Linked DNA regions of Homo sapiens: region 1 is linked to region 2. The links are contacts of gene promoters, found by promoter capture Hi-C in human tissues and cell types (Jung and others, 2019). All regions are on one chromosome and are shown on one strand. The core of a region is centred on a gene start or on the middle of the fragment in contact, and the rest is flanking DNA. Distances in the headings are between cores, read along the strand shown. Region 1 has its middle 48 kb from the start of GNG13. Region 2 holds the start of RHOT2 (ras homolog family member T2).

Evidence for each region. Contacts are between HindIII fragments. The study calls those that stand out against the background at their distance.
Region 1: a contact is called between a fragment that was not itself captured here and the fragment with the promoter of RHOT2 in region 2, in 4 of the 25 tissues and cell types used here (dorsolateral prefrontal cortex, lymphoblastoid cells, spleen and 1 more).

Annotation. Positions count from the first base shown.
Region 1 is chr16:846,983-851,166 of GRCh38, forward strand. No RefSeq gene overlaps it. Among named protein-coding and RNA genes, the nearest start is that of GNG13, 48 kb to the left of the region's middle. The HindIII fragment of the contact is 6,946 bases long and covers 1-4,184 here.
Region 2 is chr16:666,882-669,409 of GRCh38, forward strand. RHOT2 (ras homolog family member T2) reads left to right here and starts at 1,251. Exons shown (of 19, transcript NM_138769.3): 1 at 1,251-1,355; 2 at 1,472-1,530; 3 at 1,607-1,688; 4 at 1,775-1,818. The coding sequence starts at 1,319. It overlaps WDR90 (WD repeat domain 90), which reads left to right. Exons shown (of 41, transcript NM_145294.5): 40 at 24-108; 41 at 551-949. The coding sequence ends at 708. RefSeq lists an enhancer at 962-1,643 and silencers at 1,029-1,368, 1,429-1,528, 1,629-1,718. The HindIII fragment of the contact is 52,780 bases long and covers 1-2,528 here.

The sequences.
Region 1 (4,184 bases), core at 1,123-3,622, 180 kb after region 2:
GGGTCCCGGTTTCCTGTAACCCGTGTGTGTCCCGTGTCTGTAATGTGTCCCGGTTTCCTGTAACCCGTGTGTGTCCCGTGTCTGTAATGGGTCCCGGTTTCCTGTAACCCGTGTGTGTCCCGTGTCTGTAATGTGTCCCGGTTTCCTGTAACCCGTGTGTGTCCCGTGTCTGTAATGGGTCCTGGTTTCCTGTAAAGCTGTGTGTGTCCCGTGTCTGTAATGTGTCCCGGTTTCCTGTAAACCCGTGTGTGTCCCGTGTCTGTAATGTGTCGCGGTTTCCTGTAAACCCCTGTGTGTCCCATATCATCTGGACTAGGTACCTTCTCCCAGCGGCCCGGGGTGCTGACCTGGCTCAGTGCCTCTTCTTTCCTTTGCTGAGTGTTCTTTCCTCTTTTTTGTTGTTCAGATGAGAGTCTGTTGATGTTCCTCCAGCATGTCCACATGGCTGCGGGTGAAGGGCTTCACAGTAGCCCACCGTGGGCAGGTGTTTAAGGAACAACTTCCAGGTTAGGAAAAAGATGAGGCAGAGGAGATGGCCCCACCTGCCACCCAAGAGAAAAAGAGGCTCAGGGAGGGGAGGAAAGGATGTTGCGGCCCGCCATCTGTCTGCACACCAACCGTCAGAGCTGACGGAAGCTTTCGCCAACTTGCTTCCAGCAATGGGCCAACGACAATCAAGGCGGCTATGACGGCCAGTCCAGGGCTGGTTTGAAAGCTGTAACAGTTTGGACAGTGTGGTATGACCTGGGCAGGTATAGATCACACTGGGTCAGGTGTAAACCCTAGAACGGTGAGCCACCAACCCAGACTCAGCGGGTCAGCTGCGGCCCCTGGCCAGGCGGCCCAGGCAAAGTAAGGTGGCCGCAGCCCTGCAGGGAGGGTGGCACTGTCCGCAAACCCTCCCGGTGCCCCGGGTTCCCCAATGCGCTCAGACCTGGGGGTGGGCACGGAGGCCCCCCAGCCTTCCCCTGCCTAGTGCCTGGGGTGCTTCTTCCCAGCGCCTGGAGGTTTCCATCCCTCCCGCACACAGCGCTTGGAGCAAGATGGGAGGGAGGTGCCTGCTTGCTGCCTCCTGCTGGTGTGTGGGAGCCCAGGTGAACACTGGGTGGTGCGGAAAGCCACCAGCGTGATGTGGGAAGGCCATTTGCTAAGCGCCAGGTGGGCCCGGGTGTGGGCTGGGTGGGCAGCCTGGCTCGCGGCGTAAGGGGCAAGCTATCCAGGCAGCAGTGGGCTGAGAATTGCCGGCATCACCTGTCATTTGCTCGCGTGGTCCTCAGTGAATCAAAGTTTGCATGTCCGTGACTGCGGCCATCATCAGAGCTTGTGGGACCACTGGTGGCTCCGTACGGCACTTTCGGGTTAACCAGCATCCAGGTGCACTGAGCCTTGGTCTTAAGCGGCTCCAGCCCCATGCACGCCACAGAGAAGGAGTGAAGCGCGTTCCCTGCCCGGCATCCTGAGCCCCACTGGACCTTCTGGCAGGGTGAGGGTCTGGGCCCTGAGGCAGGGAGGCCCAGGGTCTCAGGACGCTTAAGACACTCTGCTTTGCTTTGCTGTATTTCAAAACATTGAGGTGAAGTTGACATTTACATAAAATTAACCACTTAAAGGTCAGCAGTGTGGTGCACGTAACACATTGGCCACACGCACAACCAGCATCTCTGCCTAATTCCAGATATTTTCATCACCCGCCAGAGAACCTTCTGGACCTGTGAGCCGTCATGCCCGCTCTCCCTGTTCCTGCCAGCAGCCCCGAGAGCCGTCCACCTTCTCCCTGCCCAGCGTCTCTGTGGGTTTCCCTGTTCTGGACATTCCAGAGACGGCATCGCAGGACCGGTGCCCTCTGTGTCTGGCGGGTTCACTGGGCATCAGGTTCTCAAGGCTCATCTGAGCGTCGGGGCCTCGCTCCTCTTTGCGGCTGCGTAATGCTCATGGGTGAGCACACCTGGTCTGTTCATCTGGGCTGTCCCCACCTCTGGGCTGCTGCAAACGTTCCGGTGCAAGCACACCCAGGTCCCCGTTTCCCGCTCTCCCGGGTCTACATGCAGATGTGGAGTTGCGGGGTCACGTGGTTCCCGTTTCTAGCTCTCCCAGGTCTACGTGCAGACGTGGAGTTGCGGGGTCACGTGGTCCCCGTTTCTAGCTCTCCCGGGTCTCCGTGCAGACGTGGAGTTGCGGGGTCACGTGGTCGCCGTTTCTAGCTCTCCCGGGTCTACGTGCAGACGTGGAGTTGCGGGGTCATGTGGTCATCCGTCTACACTGAACATTTCGAGGAACCCCCAGACAGTCTCCACGTGGCCACATCATTCTGATGCATGGCAGACGAGCCCGAAAGAGGAGCTTAGTCCCAGAGGGTTCTTGGCTTTGCCCAGGAAAGAATTCAAGGTCGAGCCAGAGGTGGAAGGAAACAGCTTTACTTCAGAGGTGGGGTTACAGCTGTGGCTGCTCCCGCAGGGCAGGGCTTCCACAGACAGCAGCCCGGGGCAGCTCTGCAGTCTCACTTATAGCCACAGTTTTTTTTTTTAAAGACAGAATATTACTCTATTGCCCAGGCTGGAGTGCAGTGGTACGGTCTCAGCTCACTGCAACATCTGCCTCCCGGGTTCAAGCGATTCTTCTGCCTCAGCCTCCCGAGTAGCTGGGACTACAGGTGCCTGCCACGCCAGGCTAATTTTTGTATTTTTGGCACAGACGGGGTTTCACTATGTTGGCCAGGCTGGTCTCAAACTCCTGACTTCAGGTGATCCGCCTGCCTTGGCCTCCCAAAGTGCTGGGATTACAGGTGTGAGCCACTGTACCCGGCCAGAAATGTCAAATTTTGATGAAGTCCAATTTATTTTCTGTGTTGTTGCCGGTGCTGTTGTTGTCATATCCAAGAAAACACTGCCAAATCCAATGTCCTTAAGATTTTCCCAGGTTTTATTCTGAGTCTTACAGTTTTAGCTCTTACATTTAGGTGTTTCATCCTATGTTTTTTGGGTTAATTTTTGTGTATGCTGTTAGGTAAGGGGCCAGCTTCATTCATTATTTTGCATGTGGAGATAAAGCTTTCCCAGTACCATTTGCTGAAAAGGCTGTCCTCTTCCCATTGAATGGTCTCAGAGCCTTTGTCGGAAGGTACCAGGCCACGTGTGGGACAATTTCTTGGGTCATTCTCATCGGAAGGTACCTGGTTGTTCTCGTTGGAAGGTGCCTGGTTGTTCTTGTCGGAAGACACCTGGTTGTCCTCGTTGGAAGGTACCTGGCTGCGTGTGGGACGATTTCTTGGGTCGTTGTTGTCAGAAGGTACCTGGTTGCATGTGTGGAATGATTTCTCGGGTTGTTCTCATCGGAAGGTACCTGGTTGTTCTCATCGGAAGGTACTGGTTGTTCTCGTTGGAAGGTATGTGGCCGTGTGTGGGATGATTTCTCGGGTTGTTCTCATTGGAAGGTACGTGGCTGCATGTGGGACAATTTCTCGGGTCATTTTCGTCGGAAGGTACCTGGTTGTTCTTGTCGGAAGGTACCTGGTCGTTCTCGTTGGACGGTACCTGGCCGCGTGGGGGATGATTTCTGTGGTTGTTGTTGTCAGAAGGTACCTGGTTGCATGTGTGGAATGATTTCTCGGGTTGTTCTTGTCGGAAGGTACCTAGTTCTCGTCGGAAGGTATGTGGCCGTGTGTGGGATGATTTCTCGGGTTGTTGTCATTGGAAGGTACGTGGCTGCGTGTGGGACGATTTCTCGGGCTGTTCTCGTCAGAGGTACCTGGCCGCATGCGTGGGACGATTTCTCAGGTTGTTCTCATTGGAAGGTACCTGGCCACGTGTGTGGGACGATTTATTGGGTTGTTCTCGTCGGATGGTACTTGGCCACATGTGGGACGATTTCTCTGGCCGTTCTCGTCAGAAGGTACCTAGCCGTGTGTAGGACGATTTCTCGGGTTCTTGTCGGACGGTACCTGGCCGCATGTGGGATGATTTCTCGGGTTGTTCTCATCGGACAGTACCTGGCCGTGTGTGTGGGACGATTTCTCGTGTTGTTCTCATTGGGCGGTACCTGGCCGCATGTGGGACGATTTCTCGGGTGGTTACTGTGCCCCGTTTATCTCTAGGTCTCCATGCTGCTGTGATACTGTTTTGACGAGGGAGCTTTCTTTTCTGCCACTGTGGGCCAGCTGCTGCCGTCTGTGGTATTCTTGTGTGTTG
Region 2 (2,528 bases), core at 1-2,500:
AGCCTCACGCTGGCTGCTCACAGGTGGTGGAGAAGATACCACTGCCCTTTTTTGCCATGTCCCTGAGCCTGTCCCCCGGGACCCACCTCCTGGCTGTTGGCTTTGCTGGTGAGTGCTGGTGGATGCAGTTTGGGCCTGTCTTAGGTGGGGGCCAAGTGGGCTGACTGGTGCCCTGTTCCAAGACAGGTGCCTCACCTGTGCCCCGGGCTCCTCGTCTCTGGGGTGGGGTGAGGACATCTGCCCTAGAGAGGGTCCTGGAGTCAGGAGATGATGAGGCAGGTGAGGAACCAGGCACAGCGCCCAGCACAGGGCCTGAATGCACGGGTGGCAGCGACTTTTAAGGAGGGAACTGGCCCAGCTGCAGGCCGACAGCCTGGCAGTGATGGACCCCCTAGTCCCAGTGGCACGTGGAGGGCACAGCCAGGAGCCCTTTTAGCACCAGCTCCCCCGACCAGCATCATGCCCAGTGGGGACAGTCTGGGTGGGTTGGGGGAGCCCTCTGAGTGCTGCCTGGTCCTGGCCCTGGCCCACCTGCACCGTCTACCCACAGAGTGCATGCTGAGGCTGGTAGACTGTGCCATGGGGACTGCCCAAGACTTTGCCGGCCACGACAACGCAGTGCACCTGTGCAGGTTTACACCGTCCGCCAGGCTGCTCTTCACGGCCGCCCGCAACGAGATCCTTGTGTGGGAGGTCCCCGGCCTCTGAGATGCAGCAGGGACTGTGGTGGTGGGCATCACGCCTGGTCATGCCAGGCACCTGGACACAGGCTTGGCAGAGGCGCCAGGTTGTCAATGGCCTCATGCTGGGACAGGCCAGGATTCACGTAAATCGCCTGGAGCAAGCTGTTGTAAATTTGGCGCCCTGTGAATACTTTCATACCTGTTGCCCTTTTGCCTAAGAAATCTTTAATGTTTCTATCTTGTAATAAACATGGGCATTTATTGCATTATTGCTGCATTGTTGCACTGGCTGTCTCTGGTCACTCCTGGCCTGAGCTCAGCCTCTGCCCGTCCCTTAATCGGCTGTTTGTCAAGGCCCCTGTGGTGCCGTGAAGCAATGGCCGCTCGGCCTGCCAGGGCGCCAGGACCCTGCGCTGTCCGCCGTGGCCGGCGCGTCCACACGGTGGCGCGCCGCACAGCCTGTCCGCTCTGGCCCGCCCGGCTCGCTGGTGCGGCTGTGCGGGCGGGGCCGGAAGTGTGGGGACAGCGCGGGGCCGAGAACCGGAAGTGCGGGGCGGGCGCGGGGGCAGAGCGAAAGGCTTGAGGACCAGGTCGGGGCCGGGTTCCGGGTCGGGGAGCGGCTCCGGGCGGCAGCTATGAGGCGGGACGTGCGCATCCTGTTACTGGGCGAGGGTAGGCGCCGGCCCGGGGGTCTCGGAGCTGCGGCGGCCGTGAGGCGGGGTGAGGGTCTCGGGGGTCGGGGGGCGCCGTGACCTTGGCCCTCGCGCTGACCGCCTCGCCCCGCGCAGCCCAGGTGGGGAAGACGTCGCTGATCCTGTCCCTGGTGGGCGAGGAGTTCCCCGAGGAGGTAAGGGGCACGCCCGCCGCGGGGGTGGGAGCGGGCCCAGCCGGGGGTCCCTGGTGAGCGCGCGGGTCCCTTGCAGGTCCCTCCCCGCGCGGAGGAGATCACCATCCCCGCGGACGTCACCCCGGAGAAGGTGCCCACCCACATCGTGGACTACTCAGGTAGCGGCCGTAGCCTCCCGGGGGCCCGGCCCGCAGCGGTCCGGCGGGCCTGCTGGGTCCGCAGTGGAGTCTCTTTGTCCCCCTAGAAGCCGAGCAGACGGACGAGGAGCTGCGGGAGGAGATCCACAAGGTACCCGTGGTGCGCGGGACGAGGGAGGGGCTGGGCGCGGGCTCGGCCTAATCCGCTTCGCAGCCTGGGGGATTGGACCGAGGTGCTCCGGGTGTCCTTGGCCCTGATAATTCTGTGACCTCCGCACTGAGGGTTGTCGGGGCCCCTACAGCGCACCCCGCTGGGAGCCGGCACCGCTCAGTCCAGTGGTGCTCCAGGGATAACAGGACCCTTCCCCGCGGGCTCTCCCTCCCTCCTGCCGGGGTGGCAGCAGCGTTTGCTCTTCCTGTGGGCTCTGTGTGCGCCACGTCCCCGTGCTGTGTGCTCCAGCCCACCGTCCCGGCCTCCGGGCACCCGGAGCTCCCAGTACCAGAGCACGTGTGCCGGGGACATCTCCAGGCAAGGGCACAGGCCACAGCCACCCAGGGCAGCCCCTGCTGTTGGCACCCCTCACTGCGGTCCTGTCACTCTGTCTGTAGCGAGGGGGGAGGCAGGGGCCAAGGCGGCGGCTGTCTTGCAGGGTGTTGGGTTGCAGGTGTGGCCGTGTCTGTCCTGAGCCCTCTGCTCCAAGGGTCTTGCTGACCACAGTTATGCTTCTGGGGCCTGGTGTCCCTGCACTGGCAGTGGGCGGGGAAGAGGCTTCTCTGAGGGTTCAGCAGCAGCTCCCAGTGTGACACTGGGGAGTGCCTGCTCTGCCAACACCAGGCTGGAGGCAGGTTTTAGGGAAGGCT